Regions from separate parts of the Homo sapiens genome. Here region 2 is linked to region 1. Evidence: promoter capture Hi-C in 16 types of primary human blood cells and fetal thymus (Javierre and others, 2016). All regions are on one chromosome and are shown on one strand. The core of a region is centred on a gene start or on the middle of the fragment in contact, and the rest is flanking DNA. Distances in the headings are between cores, read along the strand shown.

The links. Contacts are between HindIII fragments. The CHiCAGO score rates a contact against its expected background, and 5 or more counts as called.
Region 2: a contact is called between a fragment that was not itself captured here and the fragment with the promoter of TREH in region 1, in 2 of 17 cell types (non-activated CD4 T cells and naive CD4 T cells). The highest score is 5.3, in non-activated CD4 T cells.

What each region holds. Positions count from the first base shown.
Region 1 is chr11:118,675,521-118,682,511 of GRCh38, reverse strand. It overlaps TREH (trehalase), which reads left to right and starts at 2,862. Exons shown (of 15, transcript NM_007180.3): 1 at 2,862-2,973. The coding sequence starts at 2,885. RefSeq lists enhancers at 2,311-2,970, 2,971-3,632. The HindIII fragment of the contact is 8,736 bases long and covers 1-6,991 here.
Region 2 is chr11:118,136,978-118,140,887 of GRCh38, reverse strand. SCN4B (sodium voltage-gated channel beta subunit 4) reads left to right here. Exons shown (of 5, transcript NM_174934.4): 5 at 3,768-3,910. The coding sequence ends at 3,861. Among named protein-coding and RNA genes, the nearest start is that of SCN4B, 14 kb to the left of the region's middle. The HindIII fragment of the contact is 1,055 bases long and covers 2,133-3,187 here.

The DNA of each region.
Region 1 (6,991 bases), core at 1,613-4,112:
GCATGCTGCCTTCAGACTTGAACTGCAGCTTCTTCCCTGTTTCTCCAGCCTGCCAGCCTACCCTAGAGATTTTGGACTTGCCAGCTACCTCTCAAACTCTCTCTCTCTACCCCCATCCCCCATATATGTATTGTTTCTGCCTAATACGGTCCAGGACCAGATGGCTTCATTGGTAAATTCTACCAAACATTTAAAGAATTAACAATCCTTCTCAAACACTTCCACAAATAGAAGAGGGGCATATTTCCTAACTCATGCTATGAGGCTAACATTACCCTGATATTAAAACCAGATAAAGACATCACAAGAGGGCTGGGCATGGTGGCTCACACTTGGGGAGAAACACTTTGGGAGGCCAAGGCGGGAGGATCACTTGAGGCCAGGAGTTCAAGACCAGCCTGGGCGACACAGTCAGATGTAGTCTCTACAAAAAAATTTAAAAATTACCCAGGCGTGGTGGCATGCACCTGTAGTCCTGGCTACTCAGAAGGTTGAGGCCAGATGACCACTTGAGCCCCAGGAAGTCGAGGTTGTGGTGAGCTGTGTTCATGCCACTGTATTCCAGCCTGCTGGGTGATGGAGCAAGACTATGTGTCCAAAAAAAAAAAAAAACAAAACAAAACAAGGAAAGAAAATTACAGTCAAATATGCTCTATACATATTGATGCAAAATTCCTCAAAAAAATACTCGCAAGCCAAAACCAACAGTTTATTAAAAGGATTAGACATCATGACCAAGTGAGATTTATCCAAAGAATGCAAGGGTGGTTGCACAGCATTGTGAATGTAATAAAAGGAAATTGAATTGTACACTTAAAAATTGTTGACCAGGCATGGTGGCTCACACCTGTAATCCCAATACATTGGGAGGATGAGGCAGGAGGATTGCTTGAGCTCAGGAGTTCCACACCAGCCTGGACAACATAGGGAGACCCAATCTCTAAAAAAAAAAAAATTATTTTTAATTTAAAAATTAGTTGGGCGTGGTGGCATGTGCCTGTGGTCCCAGCTGCTCAGGAGGCTGAGGTGGGAGAATCCCTTAAACCTGAGAGATCAAGGCTGCAGTGAGCTGTGATGGAGCCACTGCATGCCAGCCTGGGCAACAGAGCGAGACCCTGTCTCAAAAAACAAAGCAAACAAAAAAAACAATGCCAGCTGCCCACATTACTGGGTGGAGCTATCTGAACCTTTACTAGTTCAGAGTGGTGCCTGATTCATGAGTCATTTCTTTGCTTGAATAAATGGTTAAATTTAATTTGTCTAAGGTTTTTCTTTTTAATAGCAGTAAACACTGCTCAGGTGCCACAACTGACATCCTTAACTGCAAACCTAAGTCCTTCAGGAGAGGTCATGCCTATCATTAAACTCCATGTGCCTTGCCCACCCCCTGTCCCCTGTCCCTTCAGCTCACCTTCCATATGTTGAGGGGATGAGCCTCCTAAAGTAACCGAATCTGCTTTTTTTTTTTTTTTTTTTTTTTTGAGACAGAGACTTACTCTGTCGCCCAGGCTGGAGTGCAGTGGCATGATCTCGGCTCACTACAACCTCTGTCTCCCGAGTTCAAGCGATTCTCCCACCTCAGCCTCCTGAGGAGCTGGGATTACAGGTACCCGCCATCATGCCCAGCTAATTTTTGTATTTTTGTAGAGACGGGGTTTCACCATGTTGGCCAGGCTGGTCTTGAACTCCTGACCTCAGGTGATCCACCCGCCTCGGCCTCCCAAAGTGGTGGGATTACAGGCATGAGCCACTGCACCCAGCCTGAATCTGCTTCTTAAGCTCACAAACTTCTCTGCTGGTTCCACTTTGGGGAATTACAAGGAATTACATTCCTTGGCTTGGCAAAGACCATTTCCAGACTGGTGCCAACATGTTCCTCCAGTCTATCTCAAAACCCTTCCCTGCATGAACACCAAGTTCTCTGCAGCTAGGCTGAGGGGTTTGCTCTTCTCTTCACATGCTCTGCATACATTGTAGTGGTCTCCAGCCCATTTCCCTTGGCAAACTCCTATGCGGTCATCAAGACTCATTAGGACTGGCGCAGTGGCTCACGCCTGTAATCCCAGCACTTTGGGAGGCCAAGGCGAGCAGATCATGAGGTCAAGAGATTGAGACCATCCTGGCCAACACAGTGAAACCCCGTCTCTACTAAAAATACAAAAATTAGCTGGGCGTGGTGGCGGGCACCTGTAGTCCCAGCTATTCAGGATGCTGAGGCAGGAGAATTGCTTGAACCCGGGAGGCGGAGGTGGCAGTGAGCTGAGATCACGCCACTGCACTCCAGCCTAGCGACAGAGTGAGACTCAGTCTCAAAAAAAAAAAAAAAAAGACTCATTACAAATGACACACTATTGTGGGTCTCCCTTAGTCCTCCCCAGACAGAATGGTTCTACTGTCCTGTGCTTCCGCTGTATCTCTTGCAGATAACAGTGAGAGGCCCTGAATTTCACACCACACCAGGGACAGGATCTTGAGCCATTCCATTTGAAATGTTAAGGGAAATGGTAACTCTCTGAGGTTGGTGGTCTTGGGGCCACCCAAGGAACCTGGCATCCAGGTTACAGGTGTGTGGCCTCGACTGTGTCCCTGGCCTTTGGGTGCCCACTCCCCACCCCCACCACCATGCTCTGAGGGAAGGGCCTGAGCCATTGGCACCAGCTGAGACTGTGAAATAGAAGAGGCAAAGTAGAAGCAAGGGAGGTGGCCACTGTGCCCTGAGAGCAGGAGGGGCAAGCGGGCCACACACAGACCAAGCACACGTCCCCTCAGGTGGCCACGCCTCAAAGGCTGGACTTTGGCCGACTTGGACAGGCAGGTGAGCCAGGCTGTGCCCAGCAAGCCGAAGGTGCCTGGGCTTGCTCATTCAGTCACAGTCACAGCCACCATGCCAGGGAGGACCTGGGAGCTGTGCCTGCTACTGCTGCTGGGGCTGGGACTGGGGTCCCAGGAGGCCCTACCCCCACCCTGTGAGAGGTAGGGGTGTGGGGAAGGCAGCAGGGGAGGATGGCAATAAGAGGGAGGCTGGGATGAGATCTCAAGCTCTGGGGTCGGTACTTCAGAGGGAAAGGAAGAGATTATAAAGGAAGGAAAGAGTAGGGAAGAGAAGAAAATGAGAATTCCTATGTAGCAGGCTCTGTGCTGGGCACTGCACCTGCAGTCCGTTTTTTTTGTTGTTGTTGTTAGAGTCTTGCTCGGTCGTCCAGATGGAGTACAGTGGCACCATCTCCACTCACTGCAGCCTAGACCTCCCGGGTTCGAGAGATTCTCGTGCCTCAGCCTCCTGAGTAGCTGGAATCACAGGCATGCACCACCACGCCCAGCCTGTCATTGATTTTTACCAAAATTTTCCACCGTTGGAAGGGACATTAGGCTTGGCGACTGTGCTGGGAATACAAGCGTGAGCCACCGCCCCCTGTCGGGACCTGCAGTCCTGATACCAGACGCAGCTGCCAGAGCCTGGCCTGAGGTCCAAGAGCCTGCTGGCCAGAGCCCGCCCTCCCTTCCTCTCCTCCTCCAAGCTGCCCCTTGAACTGTGCAGGCCTCTTCTCAGGATTGTTCTAGCAAACTTTCTGCTCCAGCTTCCTAGTCTGGGTGTGAGAGGCAGCCTAAGGGCCTGAAGACAGCACTTGGGCTTGAGCCCTGACCCTCATATTCTCTCTGTGACCCAGGGCAGGTCAAGGCTCTTTCCTGAGCCTGAGTTTCCATCACCAGGGACAGAGATGAGTGACCCTGTCCTGTCTCCTGGACTCAGGCGATGTCCACCCTTCGTTCCACATGGATTTATGGAGCTGTGGCCACATCAGCCACTTTACCAGCTCCTGCAAGAACAATAATAATAGAAGAAAAACAGCTGGGCACGGTGGCTCATGCCTGTAATCCCAGCACTTTGGGAGGCCAAGGTGGGAGCTATCATCTGAGGTCAGGAGTTCGAGACCAGCCTGGCCAACATGGTGAAACCCCATCTCTATGAAAAATACAAAATTAGCCGGGCATGGTGGCGCACGCCTGTAATCCCAGCTACTCGGGAGGCTGAGGCAGGAGAGTCGCTTGAACTTGGGATGTGGAGGTTGCAGTGAGCCAAGATCATGCCATTGCACTCCAGTCGGGGCAACAAGAGCAAAACTCTATCTCAAATAATAATAATAATAATAATAGAAGCAAAACAGTAACAGAAGCACAGTTTGAAGTAGAGAGAAGTTAGGGCCCGCTGGTGTGGGTGAGCAGAGGGTGTGTTAGAGAGGATGGGGAGGGACGGTGTCTCTGAGGAGGTGATGTGTAAGCAGAATTGTGGCAGGAACCATTGCTGAGCTGATCTGGGAGAGGACAGTCCAGGCATGGAAAGGGCCATGCAGAGGCCCTGACGCACTGTTCAGGGATTGGGACGAAGGCCTGTGTGATTGGGGCAGAGTGGGAACAGGTCCGGGGAGAGCGGGGCTCCAGGCAACAAGGTTTGGGCTTGGGTTCCAGTGGTTAGACTAGAGACAGAGACAAGGGGTTCAATAGAGGGTGTGTGTTACAGGGAGAGTTGACAGTGCTTGCCCATGACAATTGTGGAATATAAAGGGGAAAAGTGTACCTGGGATAATTAATAGGTTTTGTCCTGAGCAATTGTAATGAGGACTTCAGAGAGGCTGGGTGGTCCAGTGCTTTGTCAAGCATTAGGCTGTTTGCCAAATGTAGGGGAAGATGACTTTACTGGTGTTCCCTAAGACCAACCTCAGGCCAGTGATTCACTAACACTTCCAAATGGTTATACCATGATTATGGTTTCATTTTTTTTCTTTTTTTGAGACAGAGTCTCGCTCTGTCGCCAGGTTGGAGTGCAGTGGTGCAATCTCGGCTCGCTGCAACCTCCACCTTCTGGGTTCAAGCGATTCTCCTGCCTCAGCCTCCCCAGTAGCTGGGACTACAGGCACCTGCCACCACGCCCAGCTAATTTTTGTATTTTTAGTAGAGACAGAGGTGTTGCCATGTTGGCAAGAATGGTCTCAATCTCTTGTCCTTGTGATCCGCCTGCCTCAGCCTCCCAAAGTGCTGGGATTACAGGCATGAACCACCGTGCCCAGCCTTGATTATGGTTTCTTACAGTGAAAAGATACATGTTAAAGCCATCAAAGGTGAAATATTCTAGGGCCAAGTCCAGGAGAAAATAATCTCAATCTTCCAGTTTTTCCTCTCCCAGTGGATTTATATGGACAGGACTTGATTTTTCCAGCAATAACATGTGACAGCACGCATGAAGTATTGCCAATCACAAAAGCTCACCTGAGTCTTGGTGTCCAGTGTTTTTATTGGAGGTCAGTGATGAAAGCGTGGACTACCTGTGTGGCTGACCTCAGTTACTCACTCTCCAGAGTTCAAACTGATACTGGGCGGCCAAAGGCCCCTGCCACAAATCACATTATTAGCATCAAATATCTGGCATGGCCCAAGGCCCCAGAAAAACAAAGACTTATCAGGCAGCATATTTTGGTAATTTAAATCTCATCTCTCAGGGCTGGTCACAGGCCAGAATTTTCTCTGAAATGTGCAGGGTTTGAACACAGCAGACCTGCTGAGTCAATCCTTTCATGTATAAGCCACTTCTTGTATAATGAGGAATTAGTTTCATTTTTGTCTTGGGTTCCTCCAAAGTAACCTCTAAGCTCCTTGGAATCTCCCAAGTGATAGGAATGTCTGTTATTAATAGTGGTCCCTGATTAGTGTTTTTTTGTTGTTGTTTTTTTCTTTCTTTTTTTTTTTGAGACAGCAATCTAGCTCTGTTGCCCAGGCTGGCAGTGCAGTGGTGAGCATTTTGGCTCAATGCAACCTCTGCCCCCAGGGTTCAAGTGATTCTCCTGCCTCAGCCTCCCAAGTAGCTGGGACTATAGGCACGCACCACCACGCCTGGCTAATTTTTGTATTTTTAGTAGAGACGGGGTTTCACCATGTTGGCCAGCTGGTCTTAAACTCCTGACCTCAAGCAATCCACCCACCTTGGCCTCCCAAAGTGCTGGGATTACAGGCATGAGTCACTGCACCTGGCCTGATTGCTTTTTGAGACAGGGTCTCACTCTGTCACCCAGGCTGGAGTGCAGTGGTGCAGTCATGGCTCACTGCAGCCTCAATCTCTCTGGGCTTAGGTGATCCTCCCACCTTGGCCTCCTGAATAGCTAGGACTAGGTGTGTGCCACCATGCCTGGCTAATTTTTGTATTTTTTGTAGAGATGGGGTTTTGCCATGTTTCCCAGGCTCTTGGTAGCTTTTGTTAATGAGGTGACTTATGGTGGGTCCCTAGACAGCTTCTGCTAACAAGACGACTCCACATGAAGGCAGGCCGTGCCAGAAAGGCCAAGCATGTGTGTAGAGGGTTGGGGTTTTGGTCCACATGATATCAGCCCAACTTCTCAACCTTCAGGGAGGAGAAGGGGCTGGAGATGGAGTTCAATTACATGATCAATGATTCAATCAATCATGCGTATGTCATGAAACCCCAATAAAAACTCTGGACTTCAAAGTCCTGGTAAGTAGGCTGGGCACAGTGGCTCATGCCTGTAATCCCAACACTTTGGGAGGCCGAGGTGGATGGATCACTTGAGGCCAGGCATTTGAGAGCAGCCTGGCCAACATGGTGAAACCCTGTCTCTACCAAAAATGCCAAAAATTAGCAGGGTGTGGTGGTGCATGCCTGTAATCCCAGCTATTGAGGAGGCTAAGACGTGAGAATCATTGACCTGGGAGGTGGAGGTTGCAGTGAGTTGAGATTGCACCACTGCACTCCAGCCTAGGTGACAGAGTGAGACCCTGTCTCAACAAACAAACAAATAAAACAAATAAATACCAAGTCCTGGTTGGTGAACACATTGATGAGCCAGGAGGGGAAACGTCCTGGTTCCATGGGGAAAGGACACAGAAGCTCTACATTCAGGGCCCCCCTAGACCTTGCCCCATGCACCCCTTCATTTGGCTGATCCTGGCTTGTATTCTTATAATAAAACTATAGCCCTAAGCA
Region 2 (3,910 bases), core at 1,411-3,910, 540 kb after region 1:
TTACCAAAGGACTTAAGGAGCCTTTGAAAAAATCAGTGAAAATGTAAGATTCCATGTACAGAGACTCTAAAATGAGAAAACTCTTCTAGGGAGATGGGAACAAAATTCTTCTGTTAGGAATTTCTGAAAATTCAGATGGAGGTGATGTTTTAAAAGTTTGAAAAGGCAGATATGGCCTCCCAGGGAGCCCTAGGATAAGTTCAGGTATAAAAATAGACATCTATAAGGGGAAGGGGAGGGAAGATGGGGGAGGTACGGAGGGTGCAACCCTCAGGCCCCAAATTTTTGGAACAGTATCAGACAGGCTCCAGAGCAGCATGTGGTGAATCTTGCAAAACTAGAGCAGGGAAAAGGCATTTGAAAGTTGTGTTCTGAGCAAGACAGATGCGACGAGATGGCTTCCCATTGGAACAGAGAGGGTGATGGTAACCACGAGATGCAGAGAATGGAGAACTCCTCTGCCCCTATTTGCTGAAACATTCTGCTCTGCTGAGAAGAGGGAATTCTGCTGTAAAGGGCAGAACTTACTCTAGAAAGAGGGGATGGAAGTTGGAGGTAGGGAGGGGCCATACAGGTAGCAGCGCTGGGGCTGGGGAGCAGGGGAGGACCCCAGAACTGGGTTGTCGATGAAGAGCTCAAGGGTTGTCTGCCTGCCTTGTGGCCAGAGGCTGTGAGGGTTTTGGTGATCGTGAGAGGGGCTAAAAGCGTGGAGCTTAATTAGGTTCTGTTTTTCATAACCAGTCTTACTATCAATGGATGGAGAACAAATTTGTCAATATATGGTTTAAAAGCACTTAGAAAAGACAACGGTGGTCCTTCAGAGCCACAGTGGGTTCATCAAAAACAAGACATGCTAAGCTGGATGTGTGTGCCTGAAGTCCCAGCTCCCTGGGGGGCTGAGGCAGGAGGATGCTTTGAGCCCAGGAGTTTGAGTCCAGCCTGGGCAACTTAGCAAGAGCTCGTCTCTTAAAAAAAAAAAGAAAAAAGAAAAAAAAAAAAGGAATGCTAGATGTCTCCTGATAAGGCACTGGCAGAACAGGAGATTGCTCTGGAAAATACCACTTCCTGTCATTCATCAAATGCCTACCATATGTTAGGAATTCCACCAGGCAATTTTATACACTACCCATAATTATTATTTTACAATTGAGCAAAGTGAGGCTCAGAGTAGTGAAGTGACTTGCCCAAGGCCACACAGCTAGTAAGTGATAGAGCTGGGATTTGAACTGTGACTAATTTGGCTTCAAAGCTTAAACCATTGCCAGGATGTTCTACTGACTCACTGGGCATATCTAGAGTTCATTCATTTATCTGTTCATTTTGTGGCTGTTTTTGAGGCACTGTGCCAGATGCTATAGGAAATTATGGAAGGAATGAGATTCTGCCTTTAACTAAAGAAGACAAGATACAAATAAATGTGTATACAAATAAATGTAATACAAGGTAGAGGGGATCAGTGCCAGCAAAGAGGTTTGATACGATGCTGCTGTGGGGGTTCAGGGCAGGGTGAAATTCTGGGAAGGATTTCTGGCTGAATGGGTGTTTGTGGCAGGCCTTGCAAGATTAATATAACTTAAGCCCTGGGGAGAGTAAAGGGAAGATTCTTCCAGATGGAGGCACCACTGAGAGCCAAGGCAGAGAGTCTGGGAAGTGGGCTTGTCTGGAGAACAAGCCTTTTGTTTGTTGAGAGAGCTGTATGGTGAGGTGGTGGGGAGGAGAATAAAAGCCTGCAGAAGGGGTTGGGGACAGACACTTGGGGACCTGGGAGTCGAGGCTGTGATTGACTTCCGACGGCAGGGGAGCTGGCGAGGGCTTGCAGGGCCCTGGCACGATCAGAGAGCACAGAAGAAAGGATCTGGCCATGGTGGGCGGAGGGATTGGGTGGAAGAGCCTGGGGGCAGGGGACAGACCGTAGGGAAGCCTGAGGGAGGTCCTTGGAGTGGCGGGGAATGCCTGCATTACAGCAGAGACAGTGGCTTCTCAAGAACAGGGAGGTACTGGACAACATCTCACCATTGATTCTGAAACGTGGGTGCTGTTTCCTCTGTCTGGAATTTACCCTCTCTCTTTTCCTGCTCATCTTTCTTGGTTTCAAAGAAGCTTGGAAGTTTAAGGTATACTTCCAAAAAGCTTCCCTGACTCCTATGAGGAGGCTTCCTAGGTTGGGTCCCTCCTTCCTACATCCCCCATCCTGTTATTTACCACAGTGTGTCACAATCACTTGTTTAATGTCACATGCCCTAGGAGAGTGCACGTTTCCGACACAGTGCCTGGTACCCAGTAGGTTCTCAGTAGAGAATTATGGACTGCGTGGAATACAGTTCGGTGGGTCGTAATTGGCTGGGTTAACTATGCCTTAGGTACAGAGACAGAAAGAAAGAAAGAGAGAGAGACAGAGAGAGAGAGATGGATCCATCCGAATAGAGGTCTTTAGTGTATTCCACAGGGCTCCACCTGTTCATTGTTATTACTAACATTTGAAGTACACTAGGGATGTCACATTTATCAACTTCCAGAAGCCTAGTAACTATGTTGGAAGAAAAAGGGATCTAGGAAGATCTTGATAGGCTGGAGCTAGGAACTAGGTATTGCAAGATGAAATTAATGAGGACAAAATATTCAGTCCTTCCCAAAGGCCTCAAACCCAGCTGCCCAAGCCCAGGGTGAGGGTAGGATGTAGTTTGGCTGTAGCAGCTGTGAAAAACTTGGCCATTTTCATGAGCAGAAAGCTCAGAGGGATGCAGGTGCTCCCTGGGGAGTTCTGTGTGCCCAGCCTGGGCGCTGCTGTGGAGGAGGGACACACTGAAGTTGGAGCATGTCCAGCTCAGAGCGGTCAGGGTGGAACGCCTCCCGGGAGGTGTCTTCCCATCTCACCATCTCTCCTTCCTCCTGTCTTCTGCTCCGTCCCACCAAACTCTGCCTAGACCTGTCACCCTTGAAGCCAAACCCACTGCCTGCTCTGCCCCTTCCATGGACTCTGTTCTTCCCTTAATACCTCTAGTCACGGAGAGCTCAGGGAGGAAGGCCTGGGGGGCCCTGGGGAGAGGGACTCTGTGTCCTCAGCATACTCCTTGCTGGCCTGGACCCCTCCCCCTGGCGTGGCACAGCCTGGGAACTGACCCCTGAGAACAGCACCTGGTGCCCTTTGCTTCCTGCCATGTTGAGACAACTAGGTGACAGCTAAGCTTTATTGAGAACTTTCTTTTTTTCTTTGTTTGAGACAGAGTCTCGCTCTGTTGCCCAGGCTGGAGTGCAGTGGCACGATCTCAGCTCACTGCAACCTCCGCCTCCCAGGTTCAAGCGATTCTCCTGCCTCAGCCTCCCTAGTAGCTGGGACTATAGGCGCCTGCCACCACGCCTGGCTAATTTTTGTATTTTTAGTAGAGATGGGGTTTTGCCATGTTGGCCAGGCTGGTCTCGAACTCCTGACCTCAAGTGATCTGCCTGCCTCGGCCTCCCAAAGTGCTGGGATTACAGGTGTGAGCCACCGCACCTGGCCAGTTGAGAACTTTCTACATGGCAGGCACTGTTCTAAGTGCTCATTTCTCCTTCCAGCAACCCCACGCAGAAGGTCATCCCTACCTCTATTTCACAAATGAGGGGACTGAGGTACAGAGAGGTTAGGTGACATGGCCTCTGGCTACCTTAGCTCTGTAGAAGGCCAGGGAGAGGCACAGGGCTGGGTGCAGGGCCCACGGCTCCTGCCACAATTCTCCCCCTACTCTTGCTCCTCTCCTCACCACTGTCCCTTCTCTCTCCCTCTCCAGGAAGGAGTGTCTCGTGAGCTCCTCGGGGAATGACAACACGGAGAACGGCTTGCCTGGCTCCAAGGCAGAGGAGAAACCACCTTCAAAAGTGTGAGCCCTGCTTCGGGCTGAGCAGCTGCAGGGAGCCCCCTTTCTGATGATGA